3 separate regions of the Homo sapiens genome follow, and all the other regions are linked to region 3. Evidence: promoter capture Hi-C in 16 types of primary human blood cells and fetal thymus (Javierre and others, 2016). All regions are on one chromosome and are shown on one strand. The core of a region is centred on a gene start or on the middle of the fragment in contact, and the rest is flanking DNA. Distances in the headings are between cores, read along the strand shown. Region 1 has its middle 61 kb from the start of EMP1. Region 2 has its middle 9.9 kb from the start of EMP1. Region 3 holds the start of GPRC5D-AS1 (GPRC5D and HEBP1 antisense RNA 1).

Region 1 (4,354 bases), core at 559-3,058, 330 kb before region 3:
TGACAAATGTTTCTTCTAACAACCCCACAATATCACCCCTTACCACAAAATCTTCCTTCAGCTTAATCTCTCCCACTCTAAGTTCCCACACCGCCCCTAATCCCACTCGAAGCAGCCCTGAGAAACATCGCCCATTATCTCTCCATACCACCCCCAAAAACTTTTCACTGTCCCAACACTTTACCACTATTTCATTTTATTTTTCTTATTAATATAAGAAGACAGGAATGTCAGGCCTCTGAGCCCAAGCTAAGCCATCATATCCCCGTGACCTGCACGTACACATCCAGATGGCCAGTTCCTGCCTTAACTGATGACATTCCACCACAAAAGAAGTGAAAATGGCCTGTTCTTACCTTAACTGATGACATTGTCTTGTGAAATTCCTTCTCCTGGCTCATCCTGCCTCAAAAGTTCCCCTACTGAGCACCTTGTGACCCCCACTCCTGCCCACCAAAGAACAACCCCCCTCCTTCCTTTACCTACCCAAATCCTATAAAACCCCATCTCCCTTCGCTGACTCTCTTTTTGGACTCAGCCCGCCTGCACCCAGGTGATTAAAAGCTTTATTGCTCACACAAAGCTTGTTTGGTGGTCTCTTCACACGGACGCGCATGAAAGTAATGTATTCCAGTTCTGGCTTATATACTAAATAGATAGCAAGTTGCACACTAAAATAACTAAATAAAAGAATTTTGGTGTCTTTCCCCCCAGCACGATCAGAATGCTCAGCCTCCCAAGAAACTTGCCAGGTGTGACTGTTTATTCACATAACTCACCCCAGGGCATAATTGTAGAGCAGAGCAATGATGAATGACTAGGAGAGAACAAATAGAATATAATAATAATTCTACCCTGGATTTAAATAATGCTTTTTCCTTCCCAGAGCGCTAAGTGCTTTCACATAGATTAGAAGGTAAGGGTGGATATTATTATCCCCGTTTGTAGATAAGGACATAGAGTCAGAGAGGTAAGCTGTTTGTCCAAAGACTTACAATAAAAGCCTATTAGAGGTGAATGATCACCTTTGACACTATGTATGCAACCCTCTCATTTTTCAGATGAAGAAGCTCAAGTCGGGATGGTGATGTGGCTTTCCCAAGACCGCATCATTAGCGGCCAAATAATAACATACCTAGCCCTTCCTGGAGTGGAAGACAAACCCCAAAGGCCCTGACAACTTGGGATATAAGCCGTTCCCATCTGCGAGTCCTGCTTTTCCAGGAACACAGCACCACTACTGAGACTTCCCACCCTGCGATTCAAAAGTCTTGCCTCCTCAGGACCAGCAAAGTCATGGCCAGAGATAACATCTGCTTATAGAATCCCAGGGAGTTTTATTGACTTCACAAGAAAGATAAGCAGCACAATGGCTCACACACTCACAGGAGAGTAAACTTTCTCACAATTCATAGAAATCCCCTCTCTATATTATAACAGTGCTCAAATTTCCTGCCCAACTCCCCCTCCTCATCTTCATCATAGTTGCCCACATCCCATAATAGTAAGAGGGGGTTTTACCAAGAGTATGGAAATAGCATTTGTGGGTGCTTGCCCTCAAGAATTCTCTCCCCTGAGGGTGTCACCCTCTTTCCTCGGCTTTGATATACGGTGATATGCAGCCCCAGGCAACCGGCCCCAGCAGGCTCTGGGACTCCCCATTTGGTTTGGCTCCAAGGGCATGTCTGGTGAGGTACCACGCAGCAGTGGTCAGGGCACTGCTCCTGGGCTCTTGGGCTGTAAGGCCAGAGCAACAGCTTTCAGAGGTGAGAAAGTCATAGGCCAAGGAAGAACAGGCGATGTGCTACAAGAGGAAGGAGGGAGGCTGTGGCGCCTTCTCTCTGGGCAGCTGCTGTCTGAACAGCAGACAGGGGTTTAAACATAGGCTATAGCCACACAGAGCCCATCCCTCCCCCTGCCTCTCATTCTCCTGGCCAGGCAGTCTTGGCTTCACTCTCTTTCTTAATCTCCCCCAGCTGCAGACTGCCTCTTCCTGCCCTGGAGCAACTGCCTCCATCTCTGGCAAGCCCCTACCATCAAGAAAGGTGGGAAACACTTGCCCTCCCTGTCCCCAGCCCCTTGCCCAGTCACCCTCACTTACAACCCCTTTATTTAGCCAAAACCCATTTCCCCTGCTTATAAGAAAAGGGAGGGGTGTTTCTGAGATTACACACCAGGCCCTTCCTCTCAGATATAAATGTTCTTCCCAAGATCCCAAATCTTTACATCAAGAATAGATCCAGCTTAGCAGAAATGGGGACGATAAAGGATTTCAGTTCTAAATCACAGTATGTTCTAAGACACAAGGGCATGCATGACATCACCAATAATTCAGATATTAGATAAATATTTGCCAGACAAGAGCCACTGTCCTGAGGAACAAAGGGGAAGAGGAATGATATGAGGCATGGAGTTTGTCACTGAATTTATTTCCCTCTTTCACTGGTGCTCAGTTCAGCCCACCCCAGTTGTATACCTATGTTCCCCCTTAAGCCCCCTCAATAGGCTGTTTTTCACACCTCCGAAGATATTCGGCTTTATGGGGTGCCCTTGAGGCTTTGAGGTTCAGTGACAGCTGCAACTGTTGTGCCCAGATCTCCCCCTCATATCCTGGTCCTCAGCTCTGGGTTTCTTAGGAAATTCACTTCCAGGCAGGGAGTTCCCCAGACCTCTGCTTTTCCTTCCTCTCCCTCCTGCGTCCACACTGAGGCTATTTCACTGCTTATCAGCACTTCAGATGGGGGATATGAAGGAGTCAGTGTGAAAATCTGATTAGTCATTTTGGCTATTTTTTCTGGAAGCTGTAGTAAAAGATGGGTTGCAAAAGAAAGAAAAGCTATTAGCTATTGAAATCTGTGTGTTTCAATTAACCTTATCCCTCACAGATAATTGAGAATTGACAATAATGTTAGTTTCTTTGCAACCTTCTTTAAAAAATTTTTTTTTCATTTCTGATACCATCTTCACGTGGCGTTGACCAAGGCCCATAAACAATTTGTGCCTTCTTGGTCAGCACCAAGAGCTCAAAGCTTGGCAAGTGAGCCCACGACGGAAGAACTCAAAGGCCTCAGGGGCCCCGGGGCAGTGAAGGTCACCTTCTCCTCCCTCCACTGTGTTCTCTTTGTGCCCAAGTGTGCCAACATGGGTGCCAGGTTATTCCAGCCTGCCAGTTCCCACTCCTCCTGCCCAGGTTCATGCTGCGCCCCCTCCACCAGCTCAGACTGGCCTCTCTTGCCTCTGAGCACACCTTACCCTCCACAGCTCTTAACTGCTTTCTTCCTTCTGGGTCCCTGCCTGATACCTGATGCGTTTCCAAAACCCAGATCCCCAAGGTTTATCTCAAGTCCAGGAGCACCTCAAAGACCTCATGGCAAAGCCAGGTAGAATTGCTCAGCACCCTCCACCACAACCTCACCCAGTCCTCTGGGTGAATAATATGGGCACGCCTGGTTGCTCCCAGAGCCTAAATAGGCACGGAAGGCAAGGAGGGCGGCAGCCATGTGTCCTGGGACCAGGCCCACTTGGCTTCCAACAACTGCTTAGCTCTGTCCACAAGTTAAGTCAGCCTCAGTTTCCTCTTCAGTAAAATTTTGAGACTGAAAATAGAATCTACTTCCTAGATTTATTTTGAAACCTAAATGAGTTGATGAAGGTAAAGTACTTGGCACAGGGCCAGGCAGGAAATCAGTTCTGGGTGTGCAATGATGACCACCACCGTTAGCAACGTCCCCACAGTCCCAGGCAGCCTGGGCCAGCTCTAGGAGGGCCTCTGGTGCTACACTCCGCTGGAAGAGCCCCAAGGCTGAGAGGCTTCTACCTAGGTGCTTTTTTGGGATTTTTAGTAAAACATCGCTTACAGTTTTTATACAGATTCCCCTCTCTCCCCTGCAAGATGCAGAGCTGTGTTCCAGGGGGTCATGAGCCACTTCCTGGCTATTCGCACAATGAGCACTCAGTGATCCAGGCCCCAGCTGCTCCTGGTCTAGCTCGGTAGCAGCTCCATCTTCCCATGGGATGAATTCCTCCCTGGAGGATCCTCCATTCTTATGCAAATAGCTACTGGGAGCTCTGGCTCCTCGAGTTTTTTGACGTTCCCAAACAAGTCTGAATGCACTTAAGACAGAAAGCGGGTGTCTCCTCCCACCTTAATTACAATTAGAATGAAATTATGTTCACTTCAAAATTAACATTTCACACTTTTGCAACCATCAGAACTCCGACCACTGCCACCGTTCGGGTCCTCCCTCCCCTTCTCCTCCCTGCCGCCTCCTCTCCCTTTGTCCCGTGACTCAGCTCCCTGCTTCCCTGCCCTGACTTCCCCTACCCTTCCAGGTTTTGCAGGCAGCGCCATCTG
Region 2 (3,940 bases), core at 918-3,417, 260 kb before region 3:
TAGATGAAGAAATTGCAGATATGAGGATTGGTTTTTTTTTTAACTACTGCTGTTGGTAGCAATCCGAGCCAGAGCTTCCTAGACCTTCACAGAGCAGCTTATGACTCCGAGAGGTCTCTGCACCCCTGTTGTTTGAGCAGGGCACTCACCCAGCCCAAATGACCCCTGCAATGGCCTCTTGGCTCCTCATCCCCAGGTTATCTTTGCATCCCAGGTGACCTGGTGAAAACCAACCTCCCCAGAAAAGTTTTCTTGAGTATCCTGCTCTGCCAAATCCATACCAGTGTACCAGCTCAAGCCTGAGTTCCAGGCCCCTTTTGGGTCTATCTGAACACTTTCCCGTAGGAAGGACTTTTAGCTGAGGACAGAGAACAAAAGACCACAAGGGCTTTATGACAGAAGGTGTGCATCTGGTGAGTAGATCCATGGGAAGGATAAAGGGTCTGGTTTAAGGATACAGTTAAATTATCTTATCAGAAGAACATAAATTGTTTTCAGAGTATATAGAGGAACGGTGATATTTAGAACTTGGGCAAAGTATTTAAGGTTTTGTTTGGTACAGTGGAGATTTCAACAGCCAAGGTAAAGAGCTGCCATGCTGCAGACAATTCATATTAGGGGAACAGAATGGACAGCCTCAGATGATGGGGAACACAGCCTCACTTGAGAGGGGACTGGTGGGAACATTCTTCTGGCTGGGAGGGGGCCACACATCTGTGCACATCCCAAAAGAGCAACACAGAAATAAACATGAACAAATCATTTAGGCTGCAGGAAAGCAAGGCTGCATGAGGGTAAGAGCCCTTCTTTGTTCACGAATGCAACCCAAACACCTAGAACAGTGCCTGGCACATGATGGGTGCCCAACAAATGTGTGTTCAATGAATGAAGCAAAACCTTGCCCAGGTTTGAATAAAGAATGTGTGGCACTCTCAGACAGGAGGTGGAGTGATGAACTGCACAGGGTGTCTTCCTCCTAATTAATCCACCATATGATAATCATAATACCTGAAAGAAAGCAGATCATTCTCCACAACAGCAATGAGTAATCTAAACAAACAAGCCCAGGTTCACCTTGCAAATATTGCAACACCTAAGATGGATGACAAGTGGGCAGGGACCCAGGAAAGAAATGGACGTTGACAGTAACGCCAGCATCTGCTACACTCTCAGCAGTATACACATGTATGCCAAGTATCTTAAAAGAGGATACGGGGAATGCATGACCTCAAGAAAGGAATGTGTCATATGAGTGAGCAAGCTGTCTGGACTCTTAACGTGTCATGAAACTAAAAGCATCACAGAGCAGTGGTATCAGATCACAGAACAACCTGGGCTGTAGCTAAAACCCAACTCAACAAATCCAAAATCCAATGTGTGCCCCTCTCTCTCACACCTGCACTTCTCCTGCATCAGCAGAGCCTTCCCTAACACCCTGCTGCTTCAGACTAGGGTGGGTGCTCTTCCTACATGCCCCCAAATCTCTCAACAGACCTTATCTTTCAACAGACCTTCTCAGTAGATTCAGAGCTTCTTCACAGCAAGGTATCGTGTCTTATTCCTTGTGGTAGCTCTGCTCCTCAGGCCATATCTTGGATATAGTAGGTACTCAATAAATAATTGTCCAAAAATTAAATGAATGAATGGCTCCATCATCTACCAGGTCAACCTTTACTCCTCCCTCTCCCACTCTCCACATTCAAAGTCAACTAATATTATTTAATCTACTTAAAATCTATCTCAGGCCTGACCCCTCCACTTCCTCCCTATGCTGTGGCCTATGCTCCAGTCTTCTTCCTCTGTCTAGACTGTTACAATGGGCTCCTGACACTGAGCCCCTTGCCTCTGAGCTCTCTCTATTCCAATCCATCCTCCATGTCAGCAGTAGCAAACTTGCAGCCCACACACATAGTTTGTTTGGTCCTGAAAGTGTTCTAAAAAAGGAATCTGAATTAGTCTCCTATATTTTAAAATCAGGACATTTCAAATAAAATTTTGCTTTGCCAAACATCCCCTCCTTCTCGCTTGGCCTGCTTGCCTCATTTGCCTTATGGGCCTGGCCCCCTGTAGGCACTGAGTTTGTGGCACCAGAGTATCTAGATGAAACACAGACCCAATCAGATCGGATCACATGACTGCTATCTAACTTTGCTGGGAAGATAAACTCACGCAAGGCCCATGGCACACTGGCCCCACCCCCCTTTCAGGCCTATGCCCTCCTCCCTCCTTGCATCCACCCTGCACCTTGAGTGAGCTAGGCACCTTTACACCTCTGAGGTGTTGCTCAAGCTCTGTTCTCTAGCTTGAGTGCTTGCCCTGTGCTGCGGTGGTTGAGAGAATGAGCTGGAATCGGACTGCCTAGGTGCAAATCCTCCCTAAGCCTTCATTTCCTCATCTATAAAATGGGCCTAATACCAGTTGATGCCTTATAGAGTTATTGAAAGTAGCAAATGAATAATATCTCTGAAGTTCTTAACACAGGGCCTGGCACATAGCAAAGACTTAACCAGTGATCCTGTTGATGTTGTTGTCTCTGCCCTTCTTTCCCTAAAGAAATGCTGTTCTACCTCCACAGCCAGTCTCAATGTCACCTCCTCTGTGGGGCCATCTCTTCCTTCCACCTCGCCCTAGGCACAATGAGTAACCCCACCCCAGGAGCTGGCTTGTTCTGGCCACACCTCTGGGATGCCACTTACCACCCTGTCGCACCTTCAGCTCCCCTGTGTCCATCCTTCTGTGCACCACTTGCTCCCTAAGGGCTGAGCTGGGCATCTTTGAACTCCCAGTACCTGGACACCTTAGGTACTGCGTGTTTCTTGAATGAGTTGCATTGGATGCCAAGGCAGAAACATTCGGAGAGTTAAATGGCATTTTCCCTCAGTTTTATGCACCAAAGAATGTTCATGTGATACCATTTGCCACCTGAGTGTAGTCAGTGAGAGACAAAAGGCAAAGGATAAATTCATAGCACAGGCTATGCCATTTAATCACATGACGTCTGCTTCTCTGCCTCAGTTTCCTCATCAATCATCTGGAGAAAACAATGTCTTTCCAAGCTCAGTGGAACATAGGAGGACCCAGCAAGGGCAACATAGATGAAAACATTTTACAAATTACAAAACCTCCATTTCAGCACCTGGTGCAATCTTTGACCTTTATTTAATTAGGAAAATTTGAAGATATAAAAATGAATTTCTTAAAGGACCTGGATTGCTAACATACAGCTAAAAAGTGTGGAGGGTGAAAAAGGGAGGAATTCACCCCCTTCAAAACAAATACAAAAACCCACCATGGGACTTCACTGAGAATGCTATGCTTGGTTGGAATCCCAGCTTTGTCACTTTGAAGGACTCTGGGCAAATTCTTTTCTGTTTGTAATTTTTGTAGATTTAGGGAGCACAAATGCAGTTTATTACATGGATGTATTTCACAGCAGTGAAGCTGGGCATTTAGTGAGACCATCACCCAAACAGTGCATATTGTGCCCATTGAGTAATTCCTCATCCCTCATTGCCTTCCCACCCTCCGCCTTCTGAGTCTCCAGTGTCCATTATTCCACTCTCCATGTCCAATTCTGGCCATATTCTTGAACTTTCTGAGCCTCAACTTCTTTATCTGTAAAGTGAAGATAATGAAATCTATCCCAGGAAGTTGATAGGAAGACGAAATGACATGACATATGTAAAGACCTTGAAGAATACCTGCCGCTGAGGCTCCCAATACTGTTGTTTGTAGACTGTTTGTTATAACCAATAGGCATTAGATGTAAACAAATAGAGATACTAGTTTGAACTAAATATGACAATGCTATGAGAACAAATGCAGTCTATGTATTTTCTGATTTGAGATGGAGGGCAAGTGAGTGTCGAGAGCTGTCTCCCCCAATCAAGCCCTCTGCAGCCTGCTTCTAGCTCACTGTCCTGGATCCTCTCATTGCTTC
Region 3 (4,146 bases), core at 740-3,239:
ATTTAAAAGTCTCCAATCAAAAAATTAAGCCTCAGCCGGGCACGATGGCTCACGCCTATAATCCCAGCACTTTGGGAGGCGGAGGCAGGTGGATCACTTGAGGTCAGAAGTTTGAGACCAGCTGGGTCAATGTGGTGAAACCCCATCTCTACTAAAAATACAAAAAAATTAGTCAGGTGTGGTGGCATACACCTGTAATCCCAGATACTAGGGAGGCTGAGGCAGGAGAATCGCTTAAACCTGGGAGGCAGAGGTTGCAGTGAGCCAAGATCGCACCATTGCATTCAAGCCTGGGCAACAGAGCAAGACTCCATCTAAAAAAAATAAAAATAAGAAATTATATATATATATATATATATATATATATATAAAGCCTCCTTCCCCCCATCTCCCTTTCTTCTCTCTTTTAAAACAAAAATAAAAAGGCCAGGTACAGTGGTTCACACTTGTAATCCCAACACTTTTGGAGGCCAAGGCAGGATGATTTGAGCCCAGGAGTTCAAGACCAGCCTGGGCAACACAGCAAGACCCCCATCTCTACAAAAAAAAAAAAAAATCTAATAAAAATATCCAAGAGGCTGGGCATGGTGGCTCATGCCTGAAATCCCAGCACTTTAGGACGTTAAGACGGAAGGATTGCTTGAATCCAGGAGTTCGAGATCAGCCTGGGCAACATAGCAAGGCACCGTCTCTACTAAAAATCAAAAAAATTAGCTGGCCGTGGTGGCACGTACCTGTGAACCCAGCTACTCAGGCAGCTGAGGCAGGAGGATTGCTTGAGCCCAGGAGGTTAAGACTGCAGTGAGCTGTGATTGCACCGCTGCACTCCAGCCTGGCAACAAAGCAAGACCCTGTCTCAAATATTTTAATAAATTTTTTAGAAAGTACCCAAGAATGGTGGCACACACCCATAGTTCCAACTACTCGGGAGGCTGAGGTGGGAGAATTGATGGGGCTTGAGAGGTTGAGGCAACAGTGGGCCATGATGGTGCCACTGCACTTTAGCCTGGGCAACAGAGCAAGATGCTGTCTCAAAAAAAATTTTTTAAGCCCTCCCTTTCTTTCATCTTTCTTCCCTCTCAAAATACAAACAAACTATATATATGTGTGTGTGTGTGTGTGTATGTACATATATACATATATACATATATGTGTGTATATACACACATATACATATATGTATATATGTATATATTATATATACACATATATGTGTATATGTGTATATATGTATATATTATATATATACACATATATGTGTATATGTGTATATATGTATATATTATATATATACACATATGTGTATGTGTATATATGTATATATTATATATATACACATATATGTGTATGTGTATATATGTATATATTATATATATACACATATATGTGTATGTGTATATATGTATATATGTATATATATACACATGTATGTGTGTATATATGTATATATGTATATATATACACATGTATGTGTGTATATATGTATATATACACATATATGTGTATATATGTATATACACATATATGTGTATATATATATTGCCCAATTTGTTTGTACCCCATTGTCAACCCTCACAGATCCATGGCAGGGACACAGCAGCCACATAAGCCCAGGATCCAAAGCCTGATTGGAAACGGCTCCTCTCTTGCAGTAACGCAAGGTCGTAAAACAAACCAAACAGCCTGCTTTTATAAAATTTTGATATGTTGTTTATCATGGGCTTTTTGGTATTGATTTTGTTTTAAAAAATATTGTGGTAAGGCAGGAGTGACTGAGGCAAGTATTAGAGCAGGAATGAAAGTTTATTAAAAAGTTTTAGAGCAGGAATGAAAGGAAGTAAAGTACACTTGGAAGAGGCCAAGCGGGCGACTTGAGAGATCACCCACTGGACAGTCTGACCTTTGACTTACGGTTTTATACGCTGGCATGCTTCCGGAGTCTTGTGTTCCTTCTCCCCTGACTCTTCCCTTGGTGTAGGCTGTCCACACTTGCGCAGTGGCCTGCCAGCACCTGGGAGGGGAGCATGCGCAGTGTGTGGCCTGCCAGCACCTGGGAGGGGAGCATGCGCAGTGTGTGGCCTGCCAGCACCTGGGAGGGGAGCATGCGCAGTGTGTGGCCTGCCGGCACCTGGGAGGGGAGCATGCGCAGTGTGTGGCCTGCCAGCGCCTGGGAGGGGAGCATGCGCAGTGTGTTTGTACGCATGCAGGAGTTGTACACATGCTCACGTGAGGCGTTCTTCCCTTATCAGTCGAATGTCCCTAGAAGGTCATATACCAGTTAAACTCTGGCATTCTGCCTGTTAGTGCTCATGCTTGAGTACACTCGCCCAACTGCTAAGATCTTACCGGGAAGCTGCTTATCACCCGTTTCAGGTGTTTTCTATCTACTGGGAGCCTGTCTTTCCCTAGCACCGGCTGCGACCAATTATTATTTTAGAGCGACAGACTAACAGCCGCCTGACCATCACCTGATGGTCACCTGAGGTTCCTGCTATTGGAACAGACCCTCTCCTGCCCTGCTCATACCTGACAGCTACCTACTGTAACACACCTAGGCAGATAAAGATGAGATTGTGGAGTTCCAACAGAAGCAGACATTAGGGAATGAGCTGAAAGGTGGAGGTGGAAGTTGTTCAGGGAGATGAGATTGCGCGGGGTACGTAAGAAGAGAGCCTCAGTAGGCTTCGCGGTGGAGCAGGCTGTCCCATCTCCAGCGAAGCTCCCCCCATGCCTCTGTCTCCATATGGAGTTCCACTGTTAACCCTGGGCATCTCCAGCAAGATCCCTACGGGGAGAGGGAACGCATCTGAGTACTGTTTGCAGAACCACACACGACAGCTCTGAATGAATAAGCCAAGACAACACCCCGAGATTCTTCCTGCGGATTTGGGTTCCCAGGCCGGGAAGGAGCTGTTGGAGCCTGCATGGAAGATTAGTGGATCTGCAAAAAGACAATGTGGATGACTGGCCGACGCCTTGTCCCAACCCTGTCCAAGCAGAAGAATCGCCGGGATACTTGCTCTGGATACAAATTCTTGGACCCTGACTCAGACCAACTAAATCAGAACCTCTAGGAGGCCTCCAGACACTGCATTTTTAACAAATTCCCATGTGATTTTTAACGCAGTATAAGTTTAGGAAGCGCTGCTCTGTTGACAAGGAAAGGCTCTGGTCTGGTTTGTAGCAGACTGTCCAGGCTTTCCCAATTTGGTCCAAAAAGGCAGAAAGTGATTGGCTTGAGAGGGCAGAATCAATGGAAAAAGTTTATGAATTCCTGCCCCTGGGAACATTCGTCTTTCACTTTTCATCTTCTTCCCCACCCCCACCTCTTTGGGGTATAGTCTTCCCCATGCCCCAGTTCCACATCTGCTCTGACCTGGGGTTCCCACCCAGCCTCCATCCAGAACACGCTCACCCTGTTTTTGTAAGAGAAAACATTGTCAAAATCAGCTTATGCCTGAAAATTCAAGAAGATAAATTCCTCCTGAGCCCATTTGCTGGCATTCTCATCTGTTTCCAGTTTGGTGTATATCATCTGAAGGGTCCTTGTTCATCCATTTTGGTTCAAGTCAGTTTAGAAAAGAAATGCACTTTACACTGGGCACAGTGACTCACGCCTGTAATCCCAGCACTTTGGGAGGCTGAGGCGGGTGGATCACTTGAGGTCAGGAGTTTGAGACCAGCCTAGCCAACGTGGTGAAACCCCATCTCTACTAAAAATACAAAATTAGCCAGGCATGGTGGTGGGCACCTGAAGCTACTTGAAAAGCTGAGGCGGGAGAATCACTTGAACCCAGGAGGTGGAGGTTGCAGTCAGCCAAGATCATGCCACTGCACCTCAGCCTGCGTAACAGAGTGAAACTTCATCTCAAAAAAAATTTAAAAAAGAAAGAAAAGAAATGCGTTTGGAACACAATGCAATCGATCTTTGGAGAAAATCCATCTAAAATGCTTCTCTTATTGTTTTTGGGGGTTTTTTTTGTTTTGTTTTGCTTTGGGGTGTGCTTTTCTCTTTTCTCATATTTAAAGTTTGTTCTTGTGTGGTTCTCCTAGGAAACAGCACTTTCCCAAGCTTGACAAAGAAAAGCCTCAGGGAAATAAATTGGGATGTGATGAAATGTATTCAGCCCAAGAAGTAAAAAATTC

The links. The method cuts DNA at HindIII sites, captures the fragments that hold promoters and counts their contacts. A CHiCAGO score of 5 or more calls a contact.
Region 1: a fragment that was not itself captured here is called in contact with the fragment with the promoter of GPRC5D-AS1 in region 3 in 2 of 17 cell types (M1 macrophages and monocytes); the score reaches 5.5 in M1 macrophages.
Region 2: a contact is called between a fragment that was not itself captured here and the fragment with the promoter of GPRC5D-AS1 in region 3, in 1 of 17 cell types (monocytes). The highest score is 6.3, in monocytes.

Annotation. Positions count from the first base shown.
Region 1 is chr12:13,255,903-13,260,256 of GRCh38, reverse strand. No RefSeq gene overlaps it. Among named protein-coding and RNA genes, the nearest start is that of EMP1, 61 kb to the right of the region's middle. RefSeq lists enhancers at 2,622-3,488, 4,208-4,354. The HindIII fragment of the contact is 2,446 bases long and covers 586-3,031 here.
Region 2 is chr12:13,184,812-13,188,751 of GRCh38, reverse strand. No RefSeq gene overlaps it. Among named protein-coding and RNA genes, the nearest start is that of EMP1, 9.9 kb to the left of the region's middle. RefSeq lists an enhancer at 3,689-3,940. The HindIII fragment of the contact is 6,638 bases long and covers 1-3,940 here.
Region 3 is chr12:12,925,569-12,929,714 of GRCh38, reverse strand. GPRC5D-AS1 (GPRC5D and HEBP1 antisense RNA 1) reads right to left here and starts at 1,989. Exons shown (of 3, transcript NR_149067.1): 1 at 1,912-1,989. The HindIII fragment of the contact is 5,226 bases long and covers 1-4,074 here.